Linked DNA regions of Homo sapiens: all the other regions are linked to region 2. Evidence: promoter capture Hi-C in 16 types of primary human blood cells and fetal thymus (Javierre and others, 2016). All regions are on one chromosome and are shown on one strand. Each heading gives the region's core, a stretch centred on a gene start or on the middle of the fragment in contact. The rest is flanking DNA. Distances are from core to core; before and after follow the strand shown.

Region 1 (2,700 bases), core at 21-2,520, 540 kb before region 2:
AAAAAAAACCTGCACTTGTTGCCAAGTCTTCCATCTTAGACATGAAACCTTGGGATGATGAGACAGATATGGCAAAATGAAAGGAGTGAGTCAGAAGCATTCAAGCAGATGGCTTAGTCTGGGGCTCATCTAAACTAGTTCCAGTGGGATACAGATTTAAGAAACTTCAAATACAGTGTGTGGTTGAAGATGATAAATTTGGAACAGATATGCTGGAGGAGCAGATCGCTGCTTTTCAGGATTATGTATAGCCCATGGATGTGGCTGCTTTCAACAAGATCTAAATTCCATTCTGGATCATTGCACTTAAATAAAAGCTTGAAAGATTAAAAAAAATGTAGAGTTAGACAAGCTGGAAATTTGATCTGGTTTTAGTCACTTATGCTGATTGGGTGACTTTGGGCAAATTCATCGAAGTCTCTGTAAAATGGGGATAATGCTAAAATCTACCTCATAAGGCCATGTGTTTAATAAGACGGCAGAGCAATTGAGTGTTTTAAAAACACCCTACCTATTTGTTTGTTGTTTTAATCACAATAGTATAGTCCAGGCTTGTCTAATTCTTGTTAATATGTGGTAACCAGTCATTTTGTAACCTATGTTTCTTAAGTGACACCAACTTTAAATGCAGACCTGATAACAGTTTTGGAACATTACACTCTAGATTTGTTCCCACCACCTGTGGGAGAACCCCTCCCCTCCATTTCTCTCCAATTCCTCTGATTCATGCTTTCCCTGAGACCTAGAGCCTTGCTTCTCAAGGTGTGGTCTGCAGACCAGTATCACTGCTTTCAGCTGTGATTGGTTAGAAATGCAGACTCTTGGCCGGGCGTGGTGGCTCACGCCTGTAATCCGAGCACTTTGGGAGCTTAAGGCAGGCAGATCACCTGAGGCTGGGGGTTTGAGACTAGCCTGACCAACATGGAGAAACCCCCATCTCTACTAAAAATATAAAATTAGCTGGACATGGTGGAACATGCCTGTAATCCCAGCTACTCCGGAAGACCGAGGCAGAAGAATCACTTGAACCTGGGAGGTGGAGGTTGCGGTGAGCCAAGATCACGCCATTGCACTCCAGCCTGGGCAACAAAGAGTGAAACTCCATCTCGGTAATAATAATAACAATAATAATAACAGATAGTATTTATTGATTGCTTACCATGTGCCTGGTGTTATGCTAAGCACTTAATATGCATTGTCTCATTTTGGGGGCACATTTCATCTTTATTTTAGCCATTCCAACAGGTACATAGTCAGAGCCATGTAGTTCTCAAACCTCTTTAGTGGATGCTGTTGGTTCAGTGGTCACTATTGGTTGTATATCCAAAATTTGTTTCTACAACTTTCTTTCCAGCAGAATCCTATTTTCTCACATCTCCACTCCTCACCATGGGCTTCAGGGAGAGCTGACCTGAGCCCTAGTTCCATGTAAAGGCTTTTATTAACTAAGGGTGATCCCATTTCCCTTGATAATTGGTTCAGGAATGGGCAGATGACCCAATTCTGTCCAAAGAGTCTTCAGGAGGTCTGTTGGGAAGGTTTCTTACTCTTAAGAGGGAGTTGCAGGGAAAGGCGATCTTCTTGGCTATTGTCATGTCTGGATGTTATGCTTGGAACTTCTGCCATTTGGCTATGGGTTTCGGGATGAAGCTCTCTCTGCAGTGATGGAGCAGAGCGATGCTTCCTTACCAGCGTGGAGCCGCTAGATCAACCCTCTGGGCTTCCAGATGTTGTGAGATTCGCTTCTTATATAAGCCAGACTGAGTGAGGTTTCTGCTCCTTGCTTTTTTTTTTTTTTTTTTCTGGAGACAGAGTCTCGCTCTGTCACCCAGGCTGGAGTGTAGTGGTGTGATCGCCGCTCACTGCAATCTCCACCTACCGGGTTCAAAGGGATTCTCCTGCCTCAGCCTCCTGAGTAGCTGGGACTACAGGTGCCCGCCACCACGCCTGGCTAATTTTTGCGTTTTTAGTAGAGACGGGGTTTCACCATGTTGGCCAGGATGGTCTCAATCTCCTGACCTCGTGATCCACCTGCCTCGGCCTCCCAAAGTGCTGGGATTACAGACATGAGCCACCGCACCTGGCCGCTTCTTGCTTTCTAACAGATATAATTTGGTTTAGAGTTGGTGCCCAGCAACCTCTGTGGGAAGTGCTGGTCCCCAGAAGATGCGGCTACATCCTCCTAGAGGCTTTCCTTATGGGGTTTTCATGAAGGAAAGCTTCTCTCCCCATTCGCCGAGGCCAATGGAATGGAAAAGGAAGGAAGGGATTCTCCTGGAGATGAAGACTGTCTCTTCTATTTGTTATTTGTGTGACCCTCGGCAAGCACTTTCCCTCCTTGAGACTTCGTTTTCTTATGTGCAGATGGCGGGGCCAAGGATCCCAACTTGCTTTCCAGGGTGTTGGTGAGATTCCAGTGAGACGCTGGAAGGGCAAGTTTTCATCACCAATCAAGGGCCTGCAGATCCAGGACTGACACTGCTCGTGGACATGCTTACCTCAGAAAGCTGGTCAGTGCCAGAGGTGGGGCTCGATCTAAGTCTCCTGACCCCCAGAGCAATGTTTTTTCTATCATAACCTGACTCAGCCTCTGCCCTAAGGGGTCATCTATTTTCTGCCTTTTTCTTTCTCAAATGCAAGGCATGAGCACGCCCTGAAACATAACTGTGTCAGGGTTTCCTGGGGCATTTCTTTCAACTC
Region 2 (2,700 bases), core at 143-2,642:
AGGCTCAAGTGATCCTTCCACCTCAGCCTCCTGAGTTGCTGGGACAAGTGCACGCCACCACACCCAGCTAATTTTTGTATTATTTGTAGAAACAGGGTTTTGCCATGTCGCCCAAGCTGTTCTCAAACTCTTGAGCCCAAGTGATCCGCCCGCCTTGGCCTCCCAAACTACTGGTATTACAGGCCACCACGCCTAGCCAAGGAGGTTCTTATAATCCGATAGACTTACTGATCATGTCACTTTCCTGCTTAAACCCTTCAAAAGCTCTGCTCCAAGACAAAGTCCAAGCTCTGTCAGATGTTTATTGAAACTTTTCATAATCAAGACCCTTACTTAACCCTGTCTTTTATCTCTTCTCCTCTATTTTTCTTCACTCTAATACTACTGGATTTACTTTCCTTCCTCAAAAACATCCAATGGTCTTGCCGAGGAGGTTTCAAGTATCCTGTTCTCTTTCCCTGAAATCTCTCCTTTGCTATCTTCTCCGGCCACGTCTCCACTTCCCTATTCCACGTCAGTGTAGATTTTGAGGCTCAGAGAGATTACAAAATGTGCCTTATCAGATAACAAAATATGTCGACAGCCGCACTTCACTGGGCAGCTCGCTGTGGGGCAGCTGTCCTTAACTTCCGAGAAGCTGATGAAAGCTGTGGAGTCTCTCCCCCAGAAAACACACAGGCAAATTCTTTAGTAAATATTGAGGGCGTTTAAAATTCCCCTGCAACCCAAACTGGAACTTCAAGTTAAAAGGAAAGATGACTAGCTTGGAATTCAGACGATCTGGTTTTACCCCCACAGCCGGCTGTGGTGCCTCATGCAAATGGCCTGAGCTCCCTGGCCCCGTGTCCTCTGTAAGACTGCAAACATGCAATACGTCCCCCACAGTAAGTGCGAGGGTCAGTCCTCCCCACGCACACCTATGCTGGAAGAGCTCCAACCCTAGAGCCAGCAGCGGGGCTTCTCGGCCCCCGCAGCGGCTGACAGCTCCTCTGGGATCAGCCTTCACTCGCGCACGCGGAGGCCGGCTCTGGAAAAAAGACTCGCAAGCGCGACGCTCTGGGCATGCGCAGAAGCCCGGCGCATGCGCACAAACCGCCAGCCCGCCCCCTTGGCGGCCCGAGCACTCCGGGCAACGCCCCCTCAGGGCGCATCCTTGTCCCTGACGCTCCCTGCGTGCCTGGCACTGACCTCTACAGTCGGGATCGGCGCCGCCAGCTGCTCCGGAGTCAGGTTCCCAAACTCCTCCGCTAGCACGTCCATGCTGCTCACGAAGGAGGAAGAAACAGATAGAACCTCCGCGCCCGCCTTCCCTGCACCAAGCAAACTGCAAGACTCCCGGCGAACGGTGCGCGGAGGCCTAAACTGTCCCCGCCGTGCGTGTTAGCTAGAGACGCGGTAGAAAGGTTCCGCCCGCTCCCTGCCCGAATCTGCGGTGGAACCCGGATGTGGCCGAGGCCGAGTAAGGAAAGTACGCCCTCTGGTGTAGCTCGGAGGTCTGGCGCAGGGAATCCTAAGCCCCAGCTGTCAGGTTTCTTGCCAATTCTCTGGTAATTGAGACCAGCAAAACATAGTGGTTGTCATTTTAAAAGTAATCCGAAGAAAAGTGTAAACGCATAATTTACGCAACTTGAACCACTGAGGCAGAGAATTATTTAATGTAGTCCAAAATTCTATGCATTGTTTAGTATGGAAGAGCAGGAAACGTCCCAAATGCCTACCAATAGAAGATTGATTAAATAAATGATGGTACATGCGTGTAATGGAAGAGTGTTGAAAATTCTCAAAAGCACTAGATGGAAGATGTAGGAGTAAATACCCAGCGCATGGAGAAATTTAATATGAAAAGATGACATTTACGTTAGTAGGGGAAGGATGGCCTGTCCAGTAAATAATGTTTGAAGAGCTGATTACCCATTTGGGGAAAAAATACATGTAAGTGAATCTTTTGTGGATTAAATATTGAAATGTTAACAAAAACTTAGAAGAAAATGTAAGTGCAGATATTCATAACATTGAGATGTTGAAGACTTTCAAGACGGCAACAGTCAAATCATAAAGGATTTTATAATCTAAACACGATTTTATGATTCCACGGAAAATTTTTAATTTTCTGAACAGATTTTAAAAAATCACCAACAAATAGAATTAATAAAAAATAAATTGGCAGAAGACAAAGGGCTGGTCTCTCTAATTTAAAATGAGCTCATACAAATCAACAGAAAGAAAAATCCTATTAGAAAAAACAAGGCAAAATGCACCAATTAATTAATGGGTACGGAGTTTCGGTTTGGGAAGATGCAAAAGTTCTGTAAATGGAGAATGGTGATGGTTGCACAACAGTGTGAATGTATTTAATGCTGCTGACCTGTACATCATTTTAAAGGGTTAAAATGCTAAGTTTTATGTATATTTTACAACGATAAGAAAAGTTATGAAAATTTGTAAGTACATATATGCTTTCCAATTTCTCCCTCATAAAGGTAGAACCCTTGCACCAGGTTAATTATTCTTATTTACTAAAGAGCTACTTAAATTTCAGTACTTGTATTTTCTTTTTTTTTTTTTTTTTTTTTTTTTTTGAGACGGAGTCTCGCTCTGTCGCCCAGGTGGGACTGCGGACTGCAGTGGCGCAATCTCGGCTCACTGCAAGCTCCGCTTCCCGGGTTCACGCCATTCTCCTGCCTCAGCCTCCCGAGTAGC
Region 3 (2,700 bases), core at 176-2,675, 560 kb before region 2:
AGCACTTGACCTGCTTTTCTTATATGAACTATAGCTGAGGACAATCAAATAGTTGATGAAAGAAAAGCTTCTCCTTATAGAAGTATCCTGGCTAATATAAGACGGATTGATAAAATTAGAATATCACCATTCTGCAAACCATTAATGAAATGATAGGTGTACCAACCATGGATGATCGTCAGTGGCCACTAACATCACAGAAAAAGACAAGCAAGTATTATTAATAAATGCCTCCCGATGGAAGTACATACCTCTCCCTATGAAAGAGAATTTCAAACTGGTCTGATCAAACCTCCGGATCTTGTAAGACTACAGAGACAGAGAAACATGTTAAACAACAGCACAAGGAAGCAATCAACAAGTCCAAACTGTGGAAGTTCTATGGGGAAAATGACCCATTTAGCCAACAAATAAACTTCAAGGAAAACAAGGAAATGGAATGGGAATCTATAGATTAAAAGGGATTTCAAAAATTTCAAAACTTTTCTCCATTTACCTGTTTAACAAATCTGTACATCCTGCACATGTACTCTGGAACTTAGAAAAAAGAGAGATTTAAGCGTCAACCAAATGAATTTATGGACCCTGTTTGCATCCCATTTTGAACAAATCACTGTTAAAAAGAATTTTAAGACACTAAGGGAAATTTGAACACTCACTGGATATTTAATGATACTAAGGAATTATTATTTTTTTAGTGTGACAGTGATATTGTGGCTATGATTTAAAGAGTCCATATAATTTAGTACCTACTGTAATGTTGATGAATTAAATAATATTATATCTGGGATTTGCCTAAAAATAATCTATGGGTGGGGGAGAGAGAAAGTAGGGGCATAAATTATACAAGATTGGCTGTTAATTGATAATCATAAAGCTGCGTTTGGAAGCAACCCAAGTGTCCATCAATAGATGAATGGATAAAGAAGATATGGTACATATACACAATGGAGTACTATTCTGCCATAAAAAAAGAATGAGACCTTGTCATTTGCAACAACATGGGTGGAACTGGAGGTCGTTATGTTAAGTGAAATAAGCCAGGCACAGAAAGACAAACATTGCATGTTCTCACTTATTTGTGGGATGTAAAAATCAAACAATTGAACTCATGGACATAGAGAGTAGAAGGATGTTATCAGAGGGTGGGAAGGGCAGTGGGGGGCTGGAGTGAGGGAGGTGGGGTTGGTTAATGGGTACAGAGAGCAAATAGAATGAATAATACCTATTATTTGATAGCACAATGGGGAGACTATAGTCAATAATAATTGGACATTAAAAATAGCTAAAAGAGTGTAATTGGATTGTTTGTAACACAAAGGATAAATGCTGGAAGGGATGGATACCCCATTCTCCATGATGTGATTATTTCACATTGCATGCCTTTATCAAAACATCACATGTACCCTATAAATATATACACCACTATGTATCCACAAAAATTTAAAAATTTTAGCTGGTTGCGGTGACTCATGCCTGTAATCCTAGCACTTTGGGAGGCCAAGGCAGGTGGATCACTTGAGGTCAGGAGTTTGAGACCAGCCTGGCCAACATGGTGAAACCCTGTCTGTACTAAAAATACAAAGAAATTAGCCGGGTGTGGTGGCAGGTGCCTGTAATCCCAGCTATTCGGGAGGCTGAGGCAGGAGAATCGCTTGAAACCAGGAGGTGGAGGTTGCGCCACTGCCCTCCAGCCTGGGTGACAGAGCAAGACTCCATCTCAGAACAACAACAACAACAAAAAATTTAAAAAGCAAGAATGAAAAATAAAAGCTGAGTGATGTGTACATGGGGGAAGGGGGTGGAATTGGGAAAGAAAGCAAAGGAAAAGTATCAGCAAATCCAAGTTATTGATAAAAATGTTACTGAAACTAGTTTATTTAGGGATATGCTGAAAGTTTCGAGTTAATAGCATTATTTTAACTATTCTTGGGAAGACCGACTTTGTAGCCCACTATAGGATAGATTAAGTGAGGAGAAACTGGAAGAAGAGAGGCTGATTAGGCTATCATCAATTAGTTCGGACTGAGAACTTGTGGTGCAATTGCTGAGGGGCCTTTTTTGGTTGCTCAGAAATTGACACTGGGATCTCAGTTGAAACCTGTAGGAGCTAGTTCTCCCCCACAGGAGGCAAGCACCAACACCTGAGGCTAGACACCTAGATCCTCTACTGTTGAAGGTGAAGGTGCAGTGTTTGGGGTGAGAAGTTTTCCTCTCCCTTAGGCCAAGAGAGAGAAGGTCCCCAAAGAATCACTGGTAAGTATTGGAGTGCCCACAATACGAGAAGAATAACGTCTTACTCCCACTCTTTCATCTGCTTAGGCAAGGGCTAACTGATCTGTCTCTGTGCCTACCTGAGCACTGGAAAGAGAATGAAGAGGGCAGGCCTTTCCCTCCTTGAAGCAAAGAATTGCTTGGAAAGTTAGTTGTGAGGTGGGGGAAAGGGGTACCTGAACCATCCAAATCTTTCCAAGCATCACCTCCTCAGGGAAGCCTTGTGTTCCCCCTGTGCAAACTAACTTCCCTTCTTACCTGTTCTCCCGGAACTATTTTTCCTTTAGAACATTTATTTATCTCATCCAGGAGTGCCAAGGGACAGAATACAGTCATGGGTTCTTAGTTTTTGCTTCTGGTTGGGCCAGTAAAGCCCCTTCCTCTTGCCTCTTTTCTGCTTATCACTAGAGACAGAAACAAAAAACC
Region 4 (2,700 bases), core at 25-2,524, 630 kb before region 2:
ATTCTTCATTGATGGAAAGCAGTTACATATTGAAATATGTTGTTTCTAATGACATTTCTGTGGTTTTTAACTTTTTAATGAATTTCACAGAGGACAATTGGTAATTTGTATATAAAGAACTTGGCAAGAGAATTTGCTTAATGTAAATATAAACAGTCACAATTAGTATAGACCCATCGATATATTTTTGATAATTTTTCATGTATGGTAAAGTTAAAATGACAAATTGATATTCTGATATAAAACTCAAAGTTTTGAAGTCAGTGGGAAAAAAGGAGGTTTTTAGACTTTCTTAAAAGACGTTAAAATTTTAGGACAGAATTTTCTTGATGTTGTTTGATCTAACTTTGCACTCTTTGATAATAATGTTTTAGATAATGTGCGTAATCCAAATTGGTATTGTAGCCTCTGTTAACACAGACAGTATATGTTTTAAACTTTGATGTAAACCTTTTTAGACCCAAACTTGTGGAAGTATCATGTGTTAAGTTCTCTGTCTCTGTTTCTTTGTTCATTTATTACTAAAATGAACTTGTTATTAAAGTATATGCAAATATGAAATCTTGTGTACGTGTTTTTTTTTCTTTTTTGGTAAGGGAGAGAGTATTGCTGTATGATATATGATTACAAATTACAAAGAGATTCTATAAACCACATCATCATTTTGAAGGAACAGCTACCATATGTTTAGTTAAACAGTGTTTTTCAAAATTATATGCAAGAAAGAGGTAAAACTAAAGGGACTTTTTTCAAGTAATGGCATTTGTAACCATAAATCAGGCAGTATGGGCTAGCAATCAATAGAGTGAGCTCTCGAGTCAAATGCCCATTTCTGCCATTCATTAGCTTTGAGGTCTTGAGCAAGTTTAACCTTCTATGTCTTCTTTCTTCTTATCTATAAAATAGGGATGAGGGTAGTATCTGCTTTATAGTTCAGTTCCATGTAAAATACTTATGAGCTGGCATGTGATAGGGTACTCAGTGTTAGCCACAGGGCTGCCATGCTGTGTCACCCCCTGTCGTGTACAGTGCACAGTCTGCATAGCTGTATGCCACAGCTCTGGTTAGCTGCCATTATTTTTATTAGTATTGTTATTATCCCTTTAGTGTTCTCTAGTAGGTTAGTTCTTGCCATTCTGAATTATAACCAGTGGCTTTTCATTTTCCCATCATTAATCATGATAGATATTTAGTATGATAATTTAAAGATAACTGAAGATAAAAGTTGAGTAAAAATACAGAAACGATAACATTTTAGATGATATGCATTTTTAAAAATATCCTGGATAGTGAATTAACAATGATCAATAAATTCCATTACTGAGGCTAGGTGTGGTGGCTCACGCCTATAATCCCAGCACTTTTGGAGGCTGAGGTGGGAGGATCACTGAAGCCCAGGAGGTCAAGGCTGCAGTGAGCTATGATTGTGCCACTGTACTCCAGCCTGGGTGGACAGATCAAGACCTCATCTGAGCTGGGTGTGGTGGCTCATTGCCTGTAATCCCAGCACTTTGTGGGGTTGAGGCGGGAGGATCACTTAAAGCCAGGAGTTTGAGACCAGCCCTGGAGACTTAGCAAGACCCCATCTCTATTTTTAAAAAATCAATATAAAAATAAAAAAAAAGTAAAGAAGACCAGGCAGGGTGGCTCATGCCTATAATTCTAGCACTTTGGGAAACTGAAGTGAAGCAGGAGAATCACTTGAGGCATGAACCCAGGAGGCGGAGTTTGCAGTGAGCCGAGATCACATCACTGCACTCCAGCCTGGGCGACAGAGTGAGACTCTGTCTCAAAAAAAAAAAAATGATTAGCCTGAACAACATCTTGGGACCCCATCTCTACAAAAGGAAACAACAAAAATATTAGCCAGGTGTGGTGGTGTGCACTATGGTCCCAGCTACTTGGGAGGCTGAGGTGGGAGGATGGCTTGATCTAGGGGATTTGAGGCTGCAGTGAGCTATGATTGCACCACTGCACTCCAACCTGGATGACAGGGTGAGACCTTGTCTCGGGGATGGGGCGGCAGGTGGGAAATCCATTACCGAGAAAAAGAATAAGAAAAAATCCTGTGCTTTATCGTTCTTTTTTCACCACTGTTAAAGTGAAGTAATATTTTAATTGTTTTTTATGGTAAGTGTACCTCACATCCTACTCTTTGGACCTGGTTGTACAGTGCAGAGTTGAGAAATTCATAGACCTGAGATTTACCATCACCGTACAAGAGGTCATAGATTTCAGTTTTCTTGTTGTTATTTTGAGACAGAGTCTCACTCTGTCGCCCAGGCTGGAGTGCAGTGGCACGATCTCGGCTCACTGCGGCATCTGCCTCCTGGGTTCAAGCGATTCTCCTGCCTCAGCCTCCCGAGTAGTTGGGACTACAGGCGCGTGCCATCACGCCCGGCTAATTTTTTGTATTTTTTAGTAGAGACAGGGTTTCACCGTTAGCCAGAATGGTCGCGATCTCCTGACCTCATGATCCGCTGGCCTCGGCCTCCCAAAGTGCTGGGATTACAGGCATGAGCCACCGCGCACGGCCAAAGATTCAGTTTTAATGTGAATAAATAAACAGTAAAAGAACACTATCTCAGCATAAGCACTGGTATGCTATTTATAAATGTAAGAGGATTTTTTTTTTATTAGGGAGTTTTTTGGAAAGCTTTTTCAGTTTGGTGTAAATAGTGGTCAAAATGAATCACTGAA
Region 5 (2,700 bases), core at 65-2,564, 740 kb before region 2:
TGAGAATGTCTTGGGAAAGAACATTCCAGGCAGAGGAAGTAGCAAGGCCAGAGGGAGCATTGCTGGCCTGCTTGAGGAAGAGCAAGGAGTGAGTAAGAAGAGAGTGGGAAGAGTAGAAGCCAGAGAGATGGATGGGCCGCGAAGAGGATGCAGAGGCAGGCCAGATCGCAGTGCCAGATAGCTTGTGCAGGTCTTTGGAGTTTCTACAACATTTGGCTGGATTTAGTAGCAACTACTATATTTTTCAGTCTGTAAATCAGATGCCTTCACTTTTTTTTTTTTTTTTAAGATGGAGTCTCATTCTGTCACCCAGGTTGGAGTGCAGTGGCATGATCTCAGCCACTGCAATCTCCACTTCCTGGATTCAAGCGATTCTCCTGCCTCAGCCTCCCGTGTAGTTGGGACCACCTGCACGCACCACCATACCTGGCTAATTTTTGTATTTTTAATAGAGATGGGGTTTTGCCATGTTGGCCAAGCTGGTCTCGATCTCCTGACCTCCGGTGATCTGCCTGCCTCGGCCTCCCAAAGTGCTGAGATTACAGGTATGAGCCACCGTGCCCAGCCTGCCTTCATTTTTCTAGAGCTAAACTAGAGTTAAACTATTTTAAAGTCTCAGTCTGCTCACTGGTTGAAAACTGGGCTAGTCAATTCTAGATCATTTCACGTTGAAATTCAATCAATTCTGAAAAACATCTAAGGAGATGTCTCCTGCTTCTCTTCAGGATAGCATCTCTGTCCCCAGATGCTTAAGGAACATTACATCCTTACAAAGGAAGGGTATTGATCTGGCTGACATTCCTTACCTGTCTACACTGTCATTTGCTGAATGTATGATCCTGTCTGGTCTTCAAATGTTATCTCTCCAGGCTGGCATGTGTTGAGATGCCCATGTCCCCATCTGGTCTTTGGCCACAACCTCTTGTGACACCTTGTACCATGCTGTCCCCTTGGCATAACCCCTTAGTTATCTGGTTTTGTCTTTCAGGTAATTTTTGTGGCCCTCTAAAGATGAGGAAAAGTCTAGAAAAGTCCACCTGTTCTCTTAGCCTGCAGGCTTCTGAGGCCCAGTGGCATCCCATACAGGCTTACTGTGCTGAGCCATAGCAAAGTGGCATGGAATTTCCATGAGACTCAGCCTCCAGATTTCAGATGGGAAGCTGGCACAAATCTCCTCTACCCTCAGATCACCCTAAACTTATCTAGACATCTGGAGCTAATCCTAGATAAAGGCAGATGAGATATTTTGTTCTTACTTTAGTTAAGATAGATAATTTTAATCTTATTTTCCTTGCCCTCATATTCCACCCCAGCCTGGAGGATTTTTATACAGTGTTATGAGAAGGAGTGGGAAGCAGCAAATCTTTTCTGATTTACATCCGGACCAAGGCTCTTGAATTTAGAACAAAAAAATGCTGGACTACCTTTGTCCTCTAGTTCTGCCCCTCTGAGGTGAAAAGACTCCCATCCAATGACCTGCATGGGGATGGTCACAGGACAGAAAAAGATCTGTGGGGAAAAAACATTGGCTAATATTTCACAATATCATATTGCCACATTTGTAACTATTTACACTTTCTAAAAGTACCTGGTCAAGAAAAAGGGTAAGAACAAGAGAACTGTTCACAAGTACATTCTGGTGGACTAGGTCAGTTCATGGACTATATCAATCAGTGTCCAATCAGACACAGAAACCACACAGTAAATCAAACAGGAAATATTTAATAAATAGAATGATCAATTATAACAGATGATTGATTTAAAAAGTGTAGGGGGAATTCTAAAGAATATTCAAAAGTACTGAGGGAGAATACCCAACAAAGGACAAACTTGGAAGTGGGAGTGCAGGGAATCCTCTCTAAGGGTGGGACTCGGATCTCATTGGAGAATGTATTGCTGTAGCCACTGGATAATGAAGAAGTTGGCTGCGTTTCCCTGAGCTCAGGTGGGGTCTACATTCACCAGGTAGAGGCCAGAGGGCAGAAAACATGGATGGGAGTGGCCATAGGAAACACCTTCCCAGAATGCAGGTGGACTGAGGCTGGGTAGCCAACTGTGGGGATGCCCGCAAGACTCACTGGATCCACCAGCAGAGATGCCAGTGAAACCTGACAGAAGTGAGTGCTACCGCATGTCCCTCTCCAAGGCATCTTTGTCAGTGGCAAAATAAGTACAAGAAAAAGAAAACAGAAAGACCGGAACTAGGAAGAGAAGCCCCTTCCTCCTGTAGTTTCCCTCCAATGCTCTCTACTGAGAATGTTTAGCATCGTGCCAGTGGCAAAGATGAAATCCTTACAGGGCCTGGTTCCATTAACAGAGAGGAAGTAATGAAAGATGAATTTGGAGCTGAGAGGCAATAAATTGATAACTAATATATGGATGAAATGCAGTGTTAAATGTGATCAATTGGGTGTTAGCAGGGCCTCTAGAAGAACAATGGATTAAGAGTTGAGCACAAGGCATTGTAGCAAGTAGTAATGATATAACAAATACTCTGCCCTCCTGGAGTTTGCATTTGGGGTTGGAGCAGGCATAGGTTGACTGAGAATAAATAAGTAAACAAACAAACAAAAACACAGATCATAATTGGTGCCACGACAAAAGTAAATAGAGAACTATGATAAAGAATAAGAAGGGACCCTTTTTAGCCAGGCACAGTGTTTCATGTCTGTAATCCCAGCACTTTGGGAGGTTGAGATG
Region 6 (2,700 bases), core at 123-2,622, 960 kb before region 2:
CCCGCTCTTTATCCGCCGCGGGGGCCGCACCAGGGCCCGAGCTCGGGCCTGGGCCGGAGCCCGAGCCTGACCCAGGGCCACTGCAGCTCCGGGGCACCCCGGAGGCCACGACCCGCGAGTAGATGTCCCGGAAGAGGCTCTCCATGCAGGCTGTCAGGTAGATGGCGGCGTGCTCGTGGATGCGCAGCGCCACGCGGCTGTCCACCATCCAGCGATACACGCGGCCCACGGAGAAGGTGAGGCCGCAGCGGGCCGACTTGCCGCGGCCCAGGCGGTCGCCGCCGGCGCTGCTCATGTTGTAGAGGGACAGTGCGGCCAGCGCAGCCGCCGTACAGTGCGCGGCCAGGCCCCAGGACAGCACGATCTCCATGGCGCTCTGGATCTCGTACTTGGTGCACTTGGCGAAGCGCAGGCTCAGGCGCTGCGCCTCTTTGGCTATGCGCACCAGCGCCCGGCTCACCAGCGTCGACAGCTTGGCCAGCGCGTCCTTGGGCAGGCCGCCGGGGACCGCCGGGCCTGCCCGGGGATCCCGCGAACGCAGCAGCAGCGCCTCCAGCTCCTGGAGAGTCCAGGGGACCTCGTCTAGGTCCGGCAGCAGCCGCGAGCAGTGCTGGCCGGCGCAGTCCAGCCCCTCGGAGTCTTCCACCAGGGCAGTGTTGACAGTGTCAAAGCTGTTGTGCCGGCTGTGCATGGAGTCAGCTAGAGGCGGCCAGCAGCTCCCGCCATACGGGGACGCCGGGTGCGAGTCGGAACAGCACAAAGACAAGTTGGAGGAGCGCACCGAGTCCGCCGCGCCACCATAACCCGAGTCCAGCGTCAGATCCTCCAGCGTTCTCACCACGGGCTTCTTACCTCTCCTGGCCATCGCTGCGCCACTTCATGCTGCAGCCGCCTGGGAGCCAAAGGGAAGGAGCGGCGAGGAGCAGCGAGTGCCGCGGGGCGCGGGGAGAGCCGAGTCCGCGCCGCCTTGGCTCACTTTTCCACTAGCCGCTGCTACCAACTGTTAGTACTTTCGGCTGCCTCCCGGAACTGCCGCCGCTGGAATATACAGAGCAGACCCTGGAGTCATCTTCCAGAGTCCGGGCCGGAGCTGGGCGCAATGGGGAGCGAGCCAGGCCGGGAAGGAAGCTCCCGCCGGGGCTTGCCCCTTTCTTCCAAAATAAAAAGTGTCTAGACCGCTCTTCCCTGAGCCCCGCTGGGCGCAGTAGCCACCGGGCGCCGGCCACGGTGTTCGTGGGACTGAGACCACCCCAGATGCCGCCGCCGCCGCAGCTCCGCGGGCAGCTGGCTCCCGGCTCCCGGCTCCCAGTTCCCGGCCCTGGTTCGCTCGGCGCCAGCCTGCCCTGCACCGGAGCGCAGCAGCGGCCGTGGCGGCTGCAAACCTTGCCGAACCCCAGCAAACCCCGGGCAGCCAGTGGGACGGGCGTATGCAAAGCAGGGGCGGCGGAGAGCCAGTGGAATCGGAGAATGCTAATTACCTCGCTTTTTTTTTTTTTTTTTAAATCCCTCCTCCCCATGCGGCCCCGCCCCTCACACACGCCCCCGGCGGACACCGAGGCTGCAGGAAGTGGGGAGCAGTGGCCAGGGACTTGGGGAACCCTTGCAAGCGTAGAGACGTGGATGCTGCCCCCTGCTGCTGTCCCTGCCCGCATTCTCCCGGAGGGTGGTGGGTTGGGCCGGTGACCTCCCCACCTAGGTGTGCTCTCCACCGCGGTTCACAAGGTGTCTGCCTGACGGTCGCTCTCTCCCCTGCGGTTCGCATTTCACTTTTTTCCCCCCGTAACACCTGAAACATGGTTTTCCTCCCTCTCTATTCCCACTTCGGGTACGCAAACCAATTAGTGCGGCCCTCTTTCAGCCGGGGTTTGCTCCAGCATGGAGGGAAATAAGCCTGTCGAGCGGAGGCCCGTGGCGGTGGACACCACTGGGAGGCCGGATCTCCGGCCATTCGCCACCTGCCACTAGGGCGCGTTAACTCGATTCCTTTCAGTAGCCAGGAGGACCCTGTCCCTGCTTCAAAGTCCTGGGCGTGTGCTGCAGGGAGGGCTCAAGCACCACTTTGCCATCCTGGTGGGCATCTTTCCAAATAGCTCGGCCTTCTTAAAAGGAGTAAATTTGCTCAAAGGAGAATCTTCTTTCCTGACTAAAGAAAGATATAATATATATATGCATGGCTTAGCTGCATTCCTGTGTCAAATAGCATCGTGTCATCTACTTGTCTGTCCCCACCCACCCAGGCAGAAACCATATCTTACACACATGGGGATTCCTAGCTCCGCACACTGTGTCTCTCAGCTTAGAATCCCCTCCTATAGGAAGCTGGCCCAGATGTTTCAAGACTGGCTTCGGTGCTTCCACTGCCTCTATCCCCTTCTGTGGTTGCTGATTTCTGGGCCCTTGCAACACTAGGTTGCAAAAGCCTGGTTACTTGTCTGGATTCTACACTGGGCTAGGGGTTCCCATGCATAGTCCTGGCACAGTATAAGTGCTCAGTAAATATTTGTTGTAAATTGATGAAGGACGTAAGGATATGCTTTTAAATTGTTGCTTTGAATGTTCAACAATGGCCAACAGGTATATGCAAATATGCTCAACATCACTAATCATTCGGGAGATGCAAATCAAAACCACAATGAAATATCACTTCACACCTGTAAGGATGGCTATTATCAAAAAGTCAAAAGATAACAAGTGTTGGCA
Region 7 (2,700 bases), core at 6-2,505, 580 kb before region 2:
TTAGCTTAAAAGGTTTTAATAATGATTGTTTTGTATAATTCATTGCAATTCATCTGTAACTAAAACCAAGATCACAGTAGCTCAATACATAGAGGTTAAAGGTAGATAAGTCAATTTTGTAACCTCGCCTCTGGCTTTTCATTTGTTGGCTTTTATATTACCTTAAAAATTTTAAGGGTTAGTGAATGCCTGTTCACATTCATTCCCATCTGGCCTAGAACATTTAAATTGGCTGTAAGTCTTTTGACTCTTAAGTCCCTTGACCATAGGGGTCCCACCAAGGGACAGGAAAAGCCAGGGCAGCCAGCCATGCCACCTCAGCAATTGTTGTGGGACAAAATAAAAGTTTGGTGGCCATTGATGTTGCCTCTGGAAAATCTTAGCTAGAAGAGGGAGAATGTAAACCAAAAATAAAATTCTAAGCCCCCTAACCATATGAACAGACCCCTCCTCTTGGCCAAGGCCATTCCAAAGTTAACCTGAAAAACTAGTTCAGGCCATGATGGGAAGTGGATGGCCAGACGTGCGTCACAGCTGACCAGCATTAACATCAACACAGAGACCTTAAGACTGACAGAACAGACTCTCTAAGTCTGATAAGAAACATTTACAGGCCAGTAGCAGTGGCTCATGCCTGTAATCCCAGCATTTTAGAAGGCCAAGGTAGGCGGATCATGAGATCAGGAGTTCGAGACCAGCCTGGCCAACATGGTGAAACTCCTCTCTACTAAAAATAGAAAAATCAGCAGGGCATGGTGGCAGGCACCTGTAGTCCTAGCTACTTAGGAGGCTGAGGCAGGAGAATCGCTTGAATCCAGAAGGTGGAGGTTGCAGTGAGCCCAGATCGTGCCACTGCACTCCAGCCTGGGTGACAGTGCGAGACTGTCTCAAAAAAAAAAAGAAAAGGAAAAAAAAGAAACATTTACAATCTATTCTCTCTGAAGCCTGCTACCTGGAAGCTTCATCTACATGATAAAACCTTAGTCTCCACAACCCTTATCATAATCCAGACATTCCTTTCTATTGATTGCAGGTCTTTAGATAATAATCAATTGCCAGTCAGAAAATCTTTGAATCTGCCTATGACCTGGAAGTCCTCTCACCCCCTAATCCCCCCACTTCTAGTTGTCCCACCTTTGCAGACGAACCAATGTACATCTTACATGTGTTGATTGACATCTTATCTCTCCCTGAAATGTATAAAACCAAGTTGTAGCTCAGCCACCTTGGGCACATGTTTTCAAGACCTCCTGAGGGCAGTATCATGGGCCATTGGTCACTCACATTCGGCTCAGAATAAATCTCTTAAAATATTTTACAGAGTATGACTCCTTTTGTTGACAGTAGTCCCAAAATATACCACTAGTCCCATTGCTGGTTGCTTCTGAGAAGGGCAGATTATAGGAGTGACAGAATTTGAACAAGAATGTATCTGTCCGTGCCTTTATGCTTATGAAAGATGTCACCTCCAACTCCCTTGGCTTAGTTGGTCTCTGGTGGGTTGTCTTAACCATGTCCCTTCTCCTCCTCTCAAGATTTATGAAAGCTTGAGTAGATGAAACCTGAGTTTCAATGTGACACGACTGGACAATATGGTGTGGTGACTCATAGTCCAGGTGCTATAGCTAAATAGATTTTAATGAGGACTCTGCTACTTTGATCAAGTACCTTAACTTGACTGGGCCTTTTTCCCCCCAAAAAATGTAGACTAATAGTCCCCATCTGCTAAAATTGTGTTTATTGAGTAACATAATGTATTATCCTGTTCATTCGCAGAGTGAGTACTCAATACATGGTAGCTGATAGCTGTTTGTATTGTGATAGACAATTGAAGGTATATCTGCCTTTAGGCTTTTTAGCCTGGAAATTGATTGGATTGGCTGGGGTTGTTAGAACCTCATGGAGGTGAAGGAACATGAAAGTCTTTGATCAAATTGTTGCTCCATGTAGCAGAATCTAAATTTTGCACACTATACCCAAATGTATAAAACATACAGCACTCTTTATTTTCTGTAACTTGTCTTGATGCTCCCATTCCTGCTGATGGCAGGGAAAAGTCGTAAATTTTCCAATTATTAAGCATAACTCAATAACCTTCCACTATAAGGAGTTGGATTTTTTTGTTTGTTTTTTGTTTTGAGACAGTCTCACTCTGTCACCCAGGCTGGAGTGCAGTGGTGTGATCTCGGCTCACTGCAACCTCCACCTCCTGGGCTCAAGTAATTCTTCTGCCTCAGCCCCCCAAGTAGCTTGGATTACAGGCACCCACCACCATGCCCAGTGAATTTTTGTGTTTTTAGTAGAGACAGGGTTTCACCATGTTGGCCAGGCTGGTCTCAAACTCCTGACCTCAGGCAATCTGCCCACCTCAGCCCCCCAAAGTGCTGGGATTACAGACGTGAGCAACCCCACCTGGCCAAAAGGAGTCTTTTTAGGGTCAACTTAGCCTCTTCATAAATATTCCCATTACTCATCAAACTTTCAGTGAATTCATTGACTTATTTAAGTCAATATGGACCCACAGATTTCTGTTTCATTCAATGGGTTATAATTCATTACTGTCATTATTTTGATGCTCAAGTTGCCCCAGATTTGGCTAGTGAGAGCCTTATTCAAGTTGACTTCTGTGTCCTTTTGACATATCCCCATAATTCTGAGCAGTTTCTAACTTTCTAACACCAGGCGTTCCGGTTTTGTTTT

What was found. The method cuts DNA at HindIII sites, captures the fragments that hold promoters and counts their contacts. A CHiCAGO score of 5 or more calls a contact.
Region 1: a contact is called between a fragment that was not itself captured here and the fragment with the promoter of POLR3B in region 2, in 6 of 17 cell types (fetal thymus, endothelial precursors, megakaryocytes and 3 more). The highest score is 12.3, in fetal thymus.
Region 3: a fragment that was not itself captured here is called in contact with the fragment with the promoter of POLR3B in region 2 in 16 of 17 cell types (endothelial precursors, fetal thymus, megakaryocytes and 13 more); the score reaches 25.4 in endothelial precursors.
Region 4: a fragment that was not itself captured here is called in contact with the fragment with the promoter of POLR3B in region 2 in 4 of 17 cell types (monocytes, naive CD8 T cells, fetal thymus and 1 more); the score reaches 5.6 in monocytes.
Region 5: a fragment that was not itself captured here is called in contact with the fragment with the promoter of POLR3B in region 2 in 8 of 17 cell types (non-activated CD4 T cells, total B cells, naive CD8 T cells and 5 more); the score reaches 8.2 in non-activated CD4 T cells.
Region 6: a contact is called between the fragment with the promoter of ABTB3 here and the fragment with the promoter of POLR3B in region 2, in 1 of 17 cell types (fetal thymus). The highest score is 5.3, in fetal thymus.
Region 7: a contact is called between a fragment that was not itself captured here and the fragment with the promoter of POLR3B in region 2, in 13 of 17 cell types (endothelial precursors, naive CD8 T cells, naive B cells and 10 more). The highest score is 10.1, in endothelial precursors.

Annotation. Positions count from the first base shown.
Region 1 is chr12:106,898,867-106,901,566 of GRCh38, reverse strand. It overlaps the pseudogene EEF1B2P4. Among named protein-coding and RNA genes, the nearest start is that of TMEM263-DT, 55 kb to the left of the region's middle. The HindIII fragment of the contact is 1,902 bases long and covers 320-2,221 here.
Region 2 is chr12:106,356,440-106,359,139 of GRCh38, reverse strand. It overlaps POLR3B (RNA polymerase III subunit B), which reads right to left and starts at 1,392. Exons shown (of 28, transcript NM_018082.6): 1 at 1,189-1,392. The coding sequence starts at 1,260. The HindIII fragment of the contact is 8,226 bases long and covers 1-2,700 here.
Region 3 is chr12:106,920,902-106,923,601 of GRCh38, reverse strand. No RefSeq gene overlaps it. Among named protein-coding and RNA genes, the nearest start is that of TMEM263-DT, 33 kb to the left of the region's middle. The HindIII fragment of the contact is 2,711 bases long and covers 70-2,700 here.
Region 4 is chr12:106,989,225-106,991,924 of GRCh38, reverse strand. CRY1 (cryptochrome circadian regulator 1) reads left to right here. Exons shown (of 13, transcript NM_004075.5): 13 at 1-561. Among named protein-coding and RNA genes, the nearest start is that of MTERF2, 3.4 kb to the right of the region's middle. The HindIII fragment of the contact is 2,768 bases long and covers 1-2,658 here.
Region 5 is chr12:107,100,699-107,103,398 of GRCh38, reverse strand. No RefSeq gene overlaps it. Among named protein-coding and RNA genes, the nearest start is that of CRY1, 8.5 kb to the right of the region's middle. The HindIII fragment of the contact is 6,074 bases long and covers 1-2,700 here.
Region 6 is chr12:107,317,106-107,319,805 of GRCh38, reverse strand. It overlaps ABTB3 (ankyrin repeat and BTB domain containing 3), which reads right to left and starts at 1,372. Exons shown (of 17, transcript NM_001018072.2): 1 at 1-1,372. The coding sequence starts at 865. RefSeq lists an enhancer at 151-870. The HindIII fragment of the contact is 5,525 bases long and covers 1-2,700 here.
Region 7 is chr12:106,937,716-106,940,415 of GRCh38, reverse strand. No RefSeq gene overlaps it. Among named protein-coding and RNA genes, the nearest start is that of TMEM263-DT, 16 kb to the left of the region's middle. The HindIII fragment of the contact is 587 bases long and covers 962-1,548 here.